2 separate regions of the Homo sapiens genome follow, and region 1 is linked to region 2. Evidence: promoter capture Hi-C in 16 types of primary human blood cells and fetal thymus (Javierre and others, 2016). All regions are on one chromosome and are shown on one strand. Each heading gives the region's core, a stretch centred on a gene start or on the middle of the fragment in contact. The rest is flanking DNA. Distances are from core to core; before and after follow the strand shown. Region 1 has its middle 44 kb from the start of LINC01449. Region 2 holds the start of INHBA (inhibin subunit beta A).

What was found. The method cuts DNA at HindIII sites, captures the fragments that hold promoters and counts their contacts. A CHiCAGO score of 5 or more calls a contact.
Region 1: a contact is called between a fragment that was not itself captured here and the fragment with the promoter of INHBA in region 2, in 1 of 17 cell types (neutrophils). The highest score is 6.4, in neutrophils.

Annotation. Positions count from the first base shown.
Region 1 is chr7:41,053,501-41,061,008 of GRCh38, reverse strand. No RefSeq gene overlaps it. Among named protein-coding and RNA genes, the nearest start is that of LINC01449, 44 kb to the left of the region's middle. RefSeq lists enhancers at 999-1,850, 6,424-6,718. The HindIII fragment of the contact is 867 bases long and covers 2,712-3,578 here.
Region 2 is chr7:41,699,130-41,705,636 of GRCh38, reverse strand. It overlaps INHBA (inhibin subunit beta A), which reads left to right and starts at 2,547. Exons shown (of 3, transcript NM_002192.4): 1 at 2,547-2,632; 2 at 5,120-5,650. The coding sequence starts at 5,263. The region is part of intron 1 of INHBA-AS1 (INHBA antisense RNA 1); the gene reads right to left. RefSeq lists an enhancer at 417-506. The HindIII fragment of the contact is 6,998 bases long and covers 1-5,531 here.

The DNA.
Region 1 (7,508 bases), core at 1,896-4,395, 650 kb after region 2:
ATAATGTACGTGTTAGATGTGCTGAGTCCAGCTGCTAGCACACGGCTGACCCTAGCCTGCGGGCATACTGCCCAAGCCATTTCCTGCATGTGGCATGGAATTGGAAGTGAGGGAACATGGGTGGACAGAGGAAGGCTTTATCATGTTTTCTAATTGATGAGATATTTTTCAATAAAAGTTTTTGCTAACAATATCGCCTTGTGTTCCAGGGACAAAGCACTTATATTACACTAATCTTTAGGCAGGTGCCATTGTCTGTGTGATTTATTTACCTATAAGTCCTTTTTGAAAACCTCGAACTGAGGTACCATCTTCAATACTTCCTCTGTGAAAATGCAAATACTCAAGGCATTGTTGAAAGATATACTATGCCCCATCTATTGTTCTTACCTTCCCAAGGATGATTTCTGAGAGCAGGCTTGACTGGGAAGAAGGGTGCCACAAACACACTAGTCTCTGGAGGTGATGGGATGGTGAGGATGAAGAACATCATTGAGGAGGGAGGTGAGGAAGGGCATTGAGAACCTTGCTCTCATCCTGAGGGCTGGCCCAGGCTGCCCAGTCGGGGCTTGGGCATAGGTGCTGCTCCCTCTCCCCCTGTACTCCCGCTCCGATGGCTCCATTCCTTTCATCTCTGTCCCTTTACATGTATTTGTATGTGTTCGGAACTCCTTTGAATTTTCCTCCTCATGGTTGAAGACACATTTTCTCAGTTCCTTGATGATGGCCGAGGCTTGCGCATTTTGGTATCTCTCTGGGCTAGAGTAAAGGGAAGCAGAATAGAAATTCTCCTGACAATTTAGTCATGTCTGTGTCAGAGGAAAAATGGGGAATAGTTGTGAGAGTTTCAACACATCGCTGATGATACATGGGGTGTTAGAGGAATCCCACACTTACTATTTTCTCTGAAGTGTATTGAGTCTTTTCCAAGTGTACCTGTGTAAGCAATCACCTGATGTCCTAACCTTCTCCTGCCACACCTGAAGCTGGGAACCGGGAGTGAGGTTCCAGTGAGAATGCTGACCTTCAACCAAGGGTGAATAATGCCAGTGAGTTGTCTCAGAAAAGCCATTGCCATAGGTGCTTTTCTCAGATACCCGAATTGAACTTTCTCATGTCCCATCAGCACCTTGATACCAGCACAATCAGGGGCTTTTAAATATACCTGGTGGACAGATAACTTATTCCCTTTTTCAAACTAGGATACTCTCGGCTACCCACTGTAAACTAAATACTCCTCTTCTTGGAAATTCAGAATGGGTCTGTGTGATATCAAACACCTATGCTGGGAAAAACAGGAGCAAACAAAGCCATAAGGGACTGCCTTTGAAATGGAGCCTGGGAACCACTCAGCCACACAGCAGTATTTGTTTGCTTTCCTTGTTTCCTCAGAGCTGTGCTCACCTGGAGGCAACAACCTGCACTTTGTCATTTGCTGAGATGAGGAGGGACAAAGGAAGGGAGGCACTTTATCTGGCTTGTCAGCATTCCCAATGGGAGAGGGTTTAAAGAGTTCATATCTTAAGTAACCCTCAACCTGCTGTTTCTTTCACTTGGGGATATGCCAAGGGCTGTGGCTGACTCAGCTTGGGCCCAATTCTGCAGTCATTACCTAAGCCCAAAGTTCCTGATTCCTTGGTTCCTCCAGTGGGGAGTTTTGCCACATAGAGAGGGTAGGGACGGCACCTTGGCTGGGACTAGCACTGCATTAGTTATGTTTGAGGCTGTTATTTTCCTCTGAACTCTAATTGTTGGTATCAAAAGGATTAAGGGGAAAAAGCAGCTCTCTTTTCCAGGAGCAGCCCAGTTGGCAACATAGTAATCCCTCCTTGCTCCAGCAGGAGAGTAGGGGAGGGGGCAAGAGCCAAATCATTAGACTCTTTTGGGTCACAAGGAATAGACATAGGCTGTCCACCTTATTTGAGGGCTGCTGCTTGAAAGGAGACAAAATGAAGGGATCATTCTTTACTTGGACTTAAATGCTATCTACGGCAAAACCCAGACCTTGCTGATCGAAACGCCTCATTTTCCCCAGGTCAAGAGCCTGTGATTTTCTCTTCCCCAGGGCCCTGCCATATTGGTGCTGTGCCTCCTCCCTGTCTCTGTGATCAAGTAATCTAGTGACTGCGTATTTTGGGTTCAAACTCCACAAGGAAGGGTTTCCTGGTTAAGTTAATCCCTATCAGTGCCCTGTTGATGAGAGCTTTCCCCCAATCTGCCCATTGGCTGACCTCTATCCAGAGGACTGTCTTTGGCCCCGATCCCCACCCTTGGTCCACAGGTGAGACCAGCTCACGGGATCCCATGGTGTGACCCATTTTGATTTGTGCCCGAGGGACTGCCGTGGCTTATGGCCTCAGATGGGGACAGTGGATGTGGCAGCACTCAGAGTATCATGTTTTGCCCAGTTCTGGAGAGGCAGGGATGGCAGTGGGATCTGCTAAATTCTCTAAATAATTTGAGGTAAAAGTTTAGCTTTTCCTCCTCTATCTTAGCATTACTCAAAAGCACCATGAGGACAATGTTTCTAATTCCTGTAAAGGACCCTGAGCAGCTCTGGCACATGGAGGACTCACCAAAGAGCTAAGCTCTAGCACACCTGGGTGCCAGCACCTCAAGAGTGAATTTGGGTCCTGTTAAGTGTGAGAGGTGGTGACAGAGGTGACACTGACAGATTGAGCAAGAGAGGAAGGGTCTTGGTGGTTGAAGCTTAAAGAGAACTGACTGTGAGATCACTTGGAAACCCCCTGATGACCCTAAAACCTAAATGTGGGACCTTTGGGAAAGGGCTGGAGCCCTAAACTGACAGGCACAAGAGAAACCACTAAAGCACGTGCTATGATAAGGATAAGAACAAGAAAAAATCATCAGGAAAGGAATAGAAAAAGAAAAGTAAATTAAGGGAGAACTTCAGCTTTGTAATGTGGAGAAATCAGCAGCCAATTCTGAGATTCCTTTCACTCAGGATTTTAGAAAGATATCCAAAATAAAGCCCAACCCAAGAACAATAATTGTTATTCCCAGAGCAGTGAGAGAGTATATATATATAGACATACATATACATACATACATATATACCACACCAGGAGTCAACAAAAGTAACTGTATTAGTCTGTTCTCATGCTGCTATGAAGAAATACCCGATACTGGGTAATTTATAAAGGAAAGAGGTTTAATTGACTCACAGTTCCACAGGGCTGGGGAGGCCTCAGGAAACTTACAATCATGGCAGAAGGGAAAGCAAACAGGTCCTTCTTCACATGGCAGCAGGAAAGACAAGTGCAGGGTAAGTAGTTGGGGGAAGCCCCCTATAAAACCATCAGATCTCATGAGAACTCACTCACTATCATCAGAAAATAAGTATGGGGGTAACTGCCCCCATGATTCAATTACCTCCCACTGGCTTCCTCCCCCAACATGTGGGGATTATGGGAACTACAATCCAAGATGAGATTTGTGTGGGGACATAGCTAAACCACATTAGTGACATTTTAAGGGAAATGCCATCAAATGATGGTTTGAGATGAAAATGATGAGCTTTGGAGCTGAAATGGGCAGAAAAATTCAGGTTGTAAGCTTTATCTTGTGGAGCAAACCAAGTTGCCAGCCCAGCTGAAACAATAATCTATTATATGAGCTTCTGACCACACTAGATATCAACATCTTGGTTATAATAGTTCATTCAACCCACCAGGTGAATACGTCTACCTGTAAACATACCTTGTAAGTGTTCCTTAACAGGAGACCTTAGGAAGGTAAAAGAAGAGGATTTGTTAAAAATGGATGGAGAATGATATTTTAAGATACAAGTCAATACAAATTAATACATACCATAAATCAGCAATTTTTTTAAAAGTGGCTTTAATATAAATTTGCAGTTCTTCCACGTTTAGGAGTTGTTGGGAACTCATAGACTGGGAGTAAGCTAGTGTTGTGATATCCGTCAAGTTAAGCTCATATTCCTCCAGCTCTACTGGTGTTCTGAACACCAGTAGATCTACCCCATGACCTCATTTTCTTATAGCAGGGCTTTCCCTCATCTCTCCTGCTGATAAAGTGTCTCAAAGTTAATTTTAAGATCGGTCTTTATCAGGAATTGCTAATGAGGCTGTGCTTCCCGCCAGTCCCATCTGGAGATACTGATTGCCTGTTCTGCCTGGGTCCCTGGGCATTCTCTCCCATTTCCTCCCGAGTTCTTCCTCTTTTTGTTGGGTTCCAGGTTACCTCTGATATTCCTGATTTGTGTTCTCTGCCTGCTGTGGTTATGGAAAGACCTAATTCTGCCTCTTGGGTTAGGTCAGAATATCCCTCAATATTAAGCAGAAATATAAATTCCATGCCCTGCTCCATGCAATGCTGGTAGGAGTCCCCTCGATAACTGCAACTTAGGAGCGACTCCTGGTTAGCCATATTATGCCTCCTGTGACAAAGGCTTTGGTTACTAGAGCTGCAAAGAGGCTCCAAGCGCTTCTGCATACCCCCAACACCAATATATTTTGTAGTTTCTGAAAAGTACCAAGCCTCCTATCACAAGAACTGCTGTGACCTACACCACCCCTCCAAGCACGATCATCCCACCACTATTATTTTATACTTGTATATTGCTTTGTAGCTATCAAGGTGTTCCCATAATCTTTGCCATGTCTGATATGCACTAACTCCTATGACCTAGTCACAGTACCTGTTGTTATTTTGACTTTTTAAAAATGAGGATTCCAAAACTTAGGCTATGTGCCTCAAGGTCAAGGCTTGGCCCTTGGCCCAAGGTTACATGGCTAGTAAGTGGCAGAGCCAGGTTAAGCCAGATGCTCAAGGCATTCACTATGCTCAGGGCCCCTCTTCAGCTTAACCTCTCCCCCATCATTTGTCCAACTCCACAGGGAGCTGCCCTCTGAGAGCTTCGAAAGATGAAGTCTGGAAAGGATCTGACAAACTCATGAGTCTCAACATGTCACCCCTCTCAAGGACATTGCATTTTGATGAGCTTTGTTCAGTTATGTAACATGAAGGAACGCTCTCCTAAATATAAAATTGCAGACATTGGTGAGAAGTTAGTTGAGGAGGTATTGGTGGAAAATGGGAACTTTCTGACACCTCTCAAATCACATCCTGTCCAGGATCCTCATCAGATGGACTCCCTATTCCTCCTGAGGCCGACCCACTTTGGAGGTGTTGATTTATGCGTACGCTAGGAGAGTAAATCCAGGCAGAGGGGCTGCATTGCCGTTCATTGGTAGCAGGGTCTGTGTTGTGTTTCGATCTCACGCTTACTTATCAAACATGCACGGGCTTTTCTCATGCATTTTTTTAGTCCAGTTTTACTTTATTCCCTGTCACATCTGGTGGTACCAGGTCTCTAACCATAAAAAGAGGCAGCCCAGCAATCCAAACCTTGAACCCGCAGCAACTGTGGCAAACAGCAAGGAAGGGTTAACCGGTTTTGCACGAAGCAAGCCTGGCTCACCCCTGCGAATCTCTTTTTCACATTTGCTGCTTATTCATAACTCAAGCCCATCTGCTGCGCAAGTAATGATCAGCGGCTCCTGTTTCAGATGTCAACCGCCCCAGCTGTTTCTCTCTCTCTGTAAACACGAAGCGGGGAGCAATTACCACAAAATTAATATCCAGGCTTGATTATTTCTATGCCATGAAATGAAGACTGATGAGCTCTCTTCCACGCCCACCACCACCTCAGCCTCACACAATGCACACCTATGCAGCACAGCCCAGGCTAAAACCTCCCAAGAAGTCCCAGGTCGGTGAAGCTTGGAGGCTATGCTATGACCCAGGCCACCTGGAAATGCCAAAGTGAGCCTCATGTGTGTGGGAAAGCTGACAAAAAACTTAATTCCTGCTAGGCTTTGAGAGTGAAGTCCACACTGAAATTGAGCAATGAGGCTTGGAGACACTCCATTTAAGGTCAGGCTGACTCTTAGATAGGTTTTGATAGAGAGTCCTCATAACTCCTTCCATCAGCATTCTTTGATTTAAGGTAAATGTCAGACACAAGTCATTGTGGACAGCATGTCTCCCTCTCTGTTTTTTTCTCTACCATCCTGAAGCGGCAGGAATTGGAATGATCGGCCTCATCTCAAAAACTTCCTTCCATTATTGAACAAGCCTGTATGAAACATCAGCACATCTTCCTTCAGTCACAAGCATGCACTGAAGCCCCTGGTATGAGGCGCTAGCAAATGCAAGGCTCCACACAGAACATTTCCTGCCCTCCCCAGACTTCATGCTGGGGTAAGCATTTAAAAAAAAAAAGAGGATGAGGAAAACTCAGTCTGCCTGGCTTCAGCTCTTGGCTCTGCTACTTGCCATGTGCATGGTCTTGAGGAAGTTCCATGACCTGTCTGTGCCTCAGCTTCCTCAAGGATAAAATGAGGCTATACGGTTGTGGAGAGGACTGAAAGAGCTAATCGGTATGAAGTGTTGACTGCAGGCCCTGAACACATAAGTGAAATACAGGCGCTGTTGGTGTGCTGCCCCACTACCTTGAAGAATTTCCATGTAATAATATCTGGACAAACCATTGGGCGGCTTCACAGAGGAAACACACGTCAGCCAAGTCTCGATCAATGAACAGGAGCTCAATAGTCTGAGAAGATATGGAAGGCAAAGGAACAGCCATGACAAAGTGATGAAGGAATACAATGACAAAGGAATACACATTCGACATTAATTAAGTCATCCAGGGAAACAGAAGTGTAGGGTGCATGGTGGCAGGAAGATGATAGAGCAAGAAGGGAAGTTAAGTTTGGAACAGATTGAAAAAGACCCCAGTGATAAACTAAGAAGTTAAGATGTGTTCTTATAAAGAATGGGAAGCCTTGGTAAGTCTGTCAGTAAGGACATAACCCAAACAAATCCATACCAAAATAATTACTAAGAGCAGGCTGTTTGGAGGCTCAGTTGAAGTAGCCTCCTGACAAGGAAGTCAGCAGGACACCCCCCTCCTGGAGGAAAAAGGTTTTAACCGGCATGGGATTTTATTCAGCTTATTCTAACTTACTAAAGAGTGTTGCATTTTTTTTCATTGACTCATTGTAATTGTACATATTTAAGGGGTACAATTTGATGTTTTGATACACCCATATGTTTATAATGATCCAATCAGTATATTTAGCTTATTCATCACCTCACGCATTTATCATTTCTTTGTGGTGAGAACTTCTGTCTTATGAACCAGCTTCTTCGGTGTGTGTGCATGGGCATGGGAGTGTGTACATGGGTGCATGCATGTGTGTGCCTGTACAAGGATGGGCATACGTGTGTGCTCATATGTGTGTATATGAGTTGTAGGGAGCGAGAGTGGATCCAGTAAGAAGGGTCAGATTTGCATGATAAAATATCAGCGACTTCTAACCCTGTCCCTAAAAACCTTTTATTCATCCCACTATTCTGAAATTTCGTTAATGGAGGTCCGATTTATTCTTTTTTTTATTTTCTTTTTTTGAGATGGAGTCTCACTCTGTCACCCAGGCTGGAGTGCAATGGTGCAATCT
Region 2 (6,507 bases), core at 1,298-3,797:
GCGCTCCCGGCTCGCCTCTGTCCGCGGGGAGCCAGCCGGCCCCTCCGCAGGTCCCGCTCCCTGACATTTGCTGTGGTTTCACTCCCTGGCACTGAGGGCTGGGTTCAGAGATTCCCAGCTGCACTCACTGAACAGTGATTTTTTTCCCCTCCCTGAATTCTTTAGCTGCCAAAAGGGGGGAAAAAATCAAGAGCTGCTCTTAAAAGAAGTTGCCCTTGCTGGTGCTCAGGGTAAAAATAGAGGCTGCCGCTTAGACCGGCTTGGCCCTGGCTCCAGGCATCCTGCGAGCTGGGCTCGAGCAGCGGCCGCGTTCCGGCGTGATCCCTGGAAGCTGCCAGCAGGTGCTGCTCAAGGTACAGTAGCAGGGCCGAGAAGCCGGGACCCGAAGGGCCTGGGGTGCGGGGAAGCTCCGGGGGAGGGGGAAGTGAAAGAGAAACCAAACCAAGGAAGGAGAAGGAGATTCTGGTCAGGACTGGGCTGACCAGCTTGTGCCCCGGGCCCTTGAGTTCCGCAGGGAAAAGCTGATTCCCAGTCTAGAATATTCCACAGAAGCTATTTTAACCTGCCTGCTTCCTCCACCACCCCCACCTTGATTTGCACCGAGGGAGGAGGCATTGCCACTGTGGTGCAGGTGGTTGCAGAGGGGTTGCAGCACGGCTGGTAGGCTGGCCTGGCAGGTGGGCACTCGGTGGCATCAGATGGCCAGCGGAGTTTCAGAGTCACACTTGTGTTGTGGCTCCTCTGGTCAGAGAGCTGCAGATTCCTGTGACACCCATGTTTAAGAACAGCCACCAGGCTTCTCAGAAATAGTATCACTTATTATTATCTGACAGCTGCACTTGACCCCCACAGGTTCATATCATGGATCCCATTTTATAGATGGGAACACTGAGGCCTGAGTTTACACGGTGAGTGAGCAGAGGAACTGGGATCTGATCTGGGTTTGTTTTGTGCCCCCCACCCCCACCCCACGTCACCTACACACACACACACACACACACACACACACACACACACACACACACTACTTTGTGTGGAGGCGGAGGGGATGTTTTCAGGACACTAGGGTTCATGTGTGGGTCAGGGGTGAGTTTAGATGCCCTGAAGGTCATTGACTCCACTAATTCTCAGCAAAAAGGGTGGAGAAGTTTCTTTCTTATAAAGGGTTTGAGTTCACCCAGTGCTAAGCTGAGGGGCAGGTTTGGAGTTCACCATCATTAATCCTATTTCTGTCTTCGCCACTCAGATTCACTCTCTTCCTCTACAACCTAATGATTTTTTTCCTACTTCATTTCTGCATATGCAGTTCTTAGAATACTCCTTCCCCCCACCCCCATGCAGCTCAGCACCCACACTTTCTCTGTATCTAGCCAAGAGAGACCCTTTTACACAGAAAACTTCTGGTGTCCTAATGGAACCTGCTTAAGCCACACATCAGGAGGCCAGAGCCTCTATATTTTGCTTGTGGGCACAGTGAAAAGTTTATTTTATGCATGTTAAATCCTGCATACAAAACAACATATCTGGTCATATGGCTCTCATTAGCTCCCAATTTTGCACATTTTATCCAACTTGTCATGAGAACTGGGCTTATGCTTCAACTGTAGTCCTTCAAACAACCCTTCACCGTTCTTGTCAGAGGACCCCTTCCTCCTGTGTTATTTACCAGACTTGCCAACACCCCTCCCCCACAAAAAAAGCCTGACCAGCTTTACCCCTATTTCAAGGAGTGTTCACTTCTTTTCATTAATCTGCTGTTATATTTGTAACAATTTAGAAATTATAGGAGTTGAAGTTCTGGTAAAAAAGAATGATGCATGAGGGTTTTTGTTGTTGTTGTTGTTGTGTGTGTGTGTGTGTGTGTGTGTGTTTGGTTAGTTAGAATGAGATTCTAAAGACCTGGGAAGGATACTTATGAAGTTCATTTAAAGAGAATTACTATTTCCAAAGTTCTTGATTTATGAAGCAGGCATTCAATTTCAAGATGTAAAATAATAGTGTAAGTTGGTTGGGGTCGGGGGAGACCATCATCATATGATTATACAGATTTTCCCAATTTTTTTCCTCAATGAAATAGCTTATTTTAAAAATATAAAATTAGAATCCCTATAAAGAACACTACCAATTTTCTTTCCTGAAAGAAACAATAAAATACTTTGTAAATAGAAGCAACTTCATGAAGTAACAGATGTTTTATGTAAAGACATAAAACTGAACCTGAATATAACGAGACGTGTGTGCGAGTAGTAAAAGTTGAAAGTTGGACACACTCATTGAGACATATCTATTTGATTCCAATGTTTTTCTAAAAGGTAGAGTAATCCTAGCCAGAGGTTTCACTGGCTCAGTGCATCACCCAGTAGTGTCTCAGAAGCCAGGAAGGGCTTTCCATTAGATAATGAATTATGAAATGTCTCACACTGGAAAAACCAGTCATCCGCTGATGTCATGCTGATTCCAACCAATCCCAAACAAAGCCCCAGCCCTCCTCTGTTTCAGTGGTACCAATGTGTGGTGTACAAATAAGTAGTACAGTATAAAACTTCACAGTGCCAATACCATGAAGAGGAGCTCAGACAGCTCTTACCACATGATACAAGAGCCGGCTGGTGGAAGAGTGGGGACCAGAAAGGTAATGCTTTTTAACTCTTACTTCTGAGCTCTTTACACATTCAAAGATAGGAAAGCTAGGAGGAATTTTACAACTAATTGGCATTTCCAATGTGCATTGTGATGTGTACCTTTTTATATTATTCAGGCAGGTTAATACAGCTTTTAATAGTCCTAGAGCATGCAAATAGATTATATGTTTATACAAGCCACTCAGCACATATATACAAGTACATATGCCAAAGAGAAAGCTATTTTTAAGAGTTACATTCGCAAACAGTAAATTCAGGGAACACACACATACTCAGATGCAGAGAGAATCCAAATATTGATAAGTTGCACTTATCTAAATGCTGCTATTAGGACTCCTGAGTTGTTTAGAGCCATTAAACTTTTGGTTGTATTTCAGACTTTCTTGTAAAACTTAATTGAACTGCAAAACATTTTGGGTACTGTATATGTGACTCCAAATAGGTGGATGATGTTAAGTATTATAGCACAAAGATTTTTTATAAAACCATTGTAACACAAATGTCCCCTGCCTCCCCCATTCTCTTTCACCATCCCCGTAAAAAATATGAGGCTTTTTAGGCAATGTTGACAAAGTTTTAACAATAATGGTGGAGTAATTGATGTTTCTGGAGCTGAAACCCCAAAGGTGTTAGGTTACTTGTAACAGAAAAAGTCTTACAAATAGTTGTTTTGGAAAAGGGGACAGTATATATAATTCAGAAAGCATTGTTAACCTGTGCAAACTGTAATTATAACTTAGTGTCACAATTTTCTTGCCCTCTTCCCCTTGCACTCAGATCTTATCTTGTAGTAATGATATTTATTAACTCTTTCCACCTAAACTGCATTGCTTGACTGTAATGCTATGAACACACTAGGTGTCAGATATAAGCTGAGTGTATCTTCAGAAACCAAGAGGGCTTATGTGTGGGAAAGAAACCGAGAGGGAAGGAACGCTTTAACAGATGGACCCCTTAAAGATTCTTCTGCAAGATAAAAGCAATAAGACAGAAAATGAAAAAGAGGGGAGGGGGAAGAATTTTTTTTAAGCCTTAGAAAGGCATTGTTAAAAAATTCACATTTTTCTTTTTCTGTGCACACTAAAATCCATGATGATTTCATCTGCACTGTTCCTTTGAGGGAAAAAGAAGCAGTCAAGGAGGCTGTCTATGAATGCACTGGTCGGGACAGGCTTGGGGCAAGCTGAAAAAACTACCACATGACAGAGAAAAATAATTTGCCAATATATTTTAGAGAGTCTTTTCCCATAGGACCAGTTATTCAAGTCATACGAGTGCACTCTTTTTATAAAAGGATGTGGGAAAGGCCAAGAGAATTTTGCATTTTATCTGTGAAGTCCGGCGAGTGGTGGTAGGCTGTAATGTGTGAGAGTGAGTGGGTCCCCGGCAGAAGGGGGCAGCTGAACGCGACGGGGAGAAAGCGCTTCTGGAACTTGGGCTTGTGACAGGCTGCCTGCCCTCTGGTCCTTCAGTGCCCTGCTGCATTTCACAGTTGGGAAGAGTGGAGTGTATTATATGACCCCAAACAAAAGTTCCATTGCGCTCTCCTCAGATTGCCTGCCAGTGTTGATGACCTGAACATTTAAATATGAATGAATTGGGGGAAAGGACCATCTCCCCTGGATCCCATCAGGCCAGAACAATCCTCTGTTACCCCTGAGTCCCTCTTCCCTGACCTCCACTACCTGTCCACTGGACCTCCCTGCACCCTCTGCCCCACCACGTGGCCAGGTGGGCGTTCTACCACCTAGGGCTGTGGCTTGGCTGGGTGGAGGGGCGGTGGGAACACTTTTTCAATCAATTCATCCCTATTGATTGAGACACTGTGTTTGTTTGGGGTTTCTTTTCTCCCCTCCAAAAAAGGAAGAAGGTGAAACCAGGAGACTGGGCAGAGAAAGAAAAAAAAATAGTGAACAAAATTAGGATAATTTATTTTAGAAGAGAAAGTAGAACCCCCGAAAATGGTGATATTTGAAGAGAGGTGTCTGTGAGGAAGCTAAGAGCAGAAGGAGAGCAGCCTGTCAGAAAACGGGCTGTCCCTCCCTCCCTAATCACAGCCCTACTCACAGCAAACTCCCTCCCTCTCCATTCACTCACTTACTTAGGGCCAATCCTTTCTCTCTCTCTCTCTCTCTCTCTCTCTCTCTCTCTCTTCCTTTCCCTCTCTCCCTCTCCCCCTCCCTTCCCTCCCTCTCTCCCTCTCTCTCCCCCTTCTTTCCCTCTCTCTTCTCTCCCCCTCTCTCCTCTCTCTCTGTCTCTGTCTCCCTCCCATCCTCTCTCTCTGTCTCTGTCTGTCTCCCCGCCACCCTGTCTCTCCCTCCCTCCCTGTCTCCCTCCCTCCCTCCCTCCTTCCTTCTCTCTTACTCGGAGACAGTCAGAACTCTCCTCCCTGACAGCCACAAACCTACAGCACTGACTGCATTCAGAGAGGAACCTGCAAACAAAACTTCACAGAAAACTTTTTGTTCTTGTTCCAGAGAATTTGCTGAAGAGGAGAAGGAAAAAAAAAACACCAAAAAAAAAAATAAAAAAATCCACACACACAAAAAAACCTGCGCGTGAGGGGGGAGGAAAAGCAGGGCCTTTTAAAAAGGCAATCACAACAACTTTTGCTGCCAGGATGCCCTTGCTTTGGCTGAGAGGATTTCTGTTGGCAAGTTGCTGGATTATAGTGAGGAGTTCCCCCACCCCAGGATCCGAGGGGCACAGCGCGGCCCCCGACTGTCCGTCCTGTGCGCTGGCCGCCCTCCCAAAGGATGTACCCAACTCTCAGCCAGAGATGGTGGAGGCCGTCAAGAAGCACATTTTAAACATGCTGCACTTGAAGAAGAGACCCGATGTCACCCAGCCGGTACCCAAGGCGGCGCTTCTGAACGCGATCAGAAAGCTTCATGTGGGCAAAGTCGGGGAGAACGGGTATGTGGAGATAGAGGATGACATTGGAAGGAGGGCAGAAATGAATGAACTTATGGAGCAGACCTCGGAGATCATCACGTTTGCCGAGTCAGGTTGGTGCTGGCATTGGCAGGGGGTGGGGAGGGGTGGGGGGTGGGAGGGTAAAATATATTTCTTTGACAGTCCCAGGAGGAACTTCTTTTCCCTTCAGCTGGAAACTGCCTGGGAAGGTTATTAGTTATTAGGTGATGGTAGCGGACTAGCCGACGGAGGGCAGGCAGGGGAGGGGGAGAGGACTTTACAGAAAAGGAATTCTCGGTCGAGCTCTGCCTGGAGATGACTGGCTTACACTTACTAAACCCAGCGGGTCACACAGAGAGGAAGCTCGGGGCCAATGTTGAGCTGGAAGGCAGACTGTGAGGGGCTGCCTTGCCCTGCCTGTGAAACCAGATCTGAGCAGCCGGAGGAAAGCCGCGGCATTTTCGGGTGCTAGGGGAGCAGAGGAGGCTTCCGGACCCCATCCAAGTTTTTATTGAGGGTAGAGGGGTGAATGTACCAGGATTGGAGTGGAATGGCACAGATGAAGTCACTCTCTTAAAACAAACCTTCCCCTTTAAAAGTCCAATCTGGGGCCACATTGGAGAAGCAGGGCATATTTATGAGTGACAGTCATTTTTACCTTTAGAAAATGTCTATAAGTGCACAGGCACCACATTCAAGACAGGGAAGAGCTACTTTGGGGGACAGTTGTCATTGAACCAGCAGTTACTTTTGGGACACTGACTTTTGCTCTCTGAAAGAAAAAAAAATAAATAAAACAACCAGTTTTGTTCTTTCTAAAGTTACTAAGAGCTCTCTGCCAAGGAACGCAACCTTGACAAAGTACTCTCAGATACTACGCTGAACTCACTCAATCCTTAAGAGGAAGAACTTTAATAAATAGATTCTAATCGTTGGCCCAGGACCACAC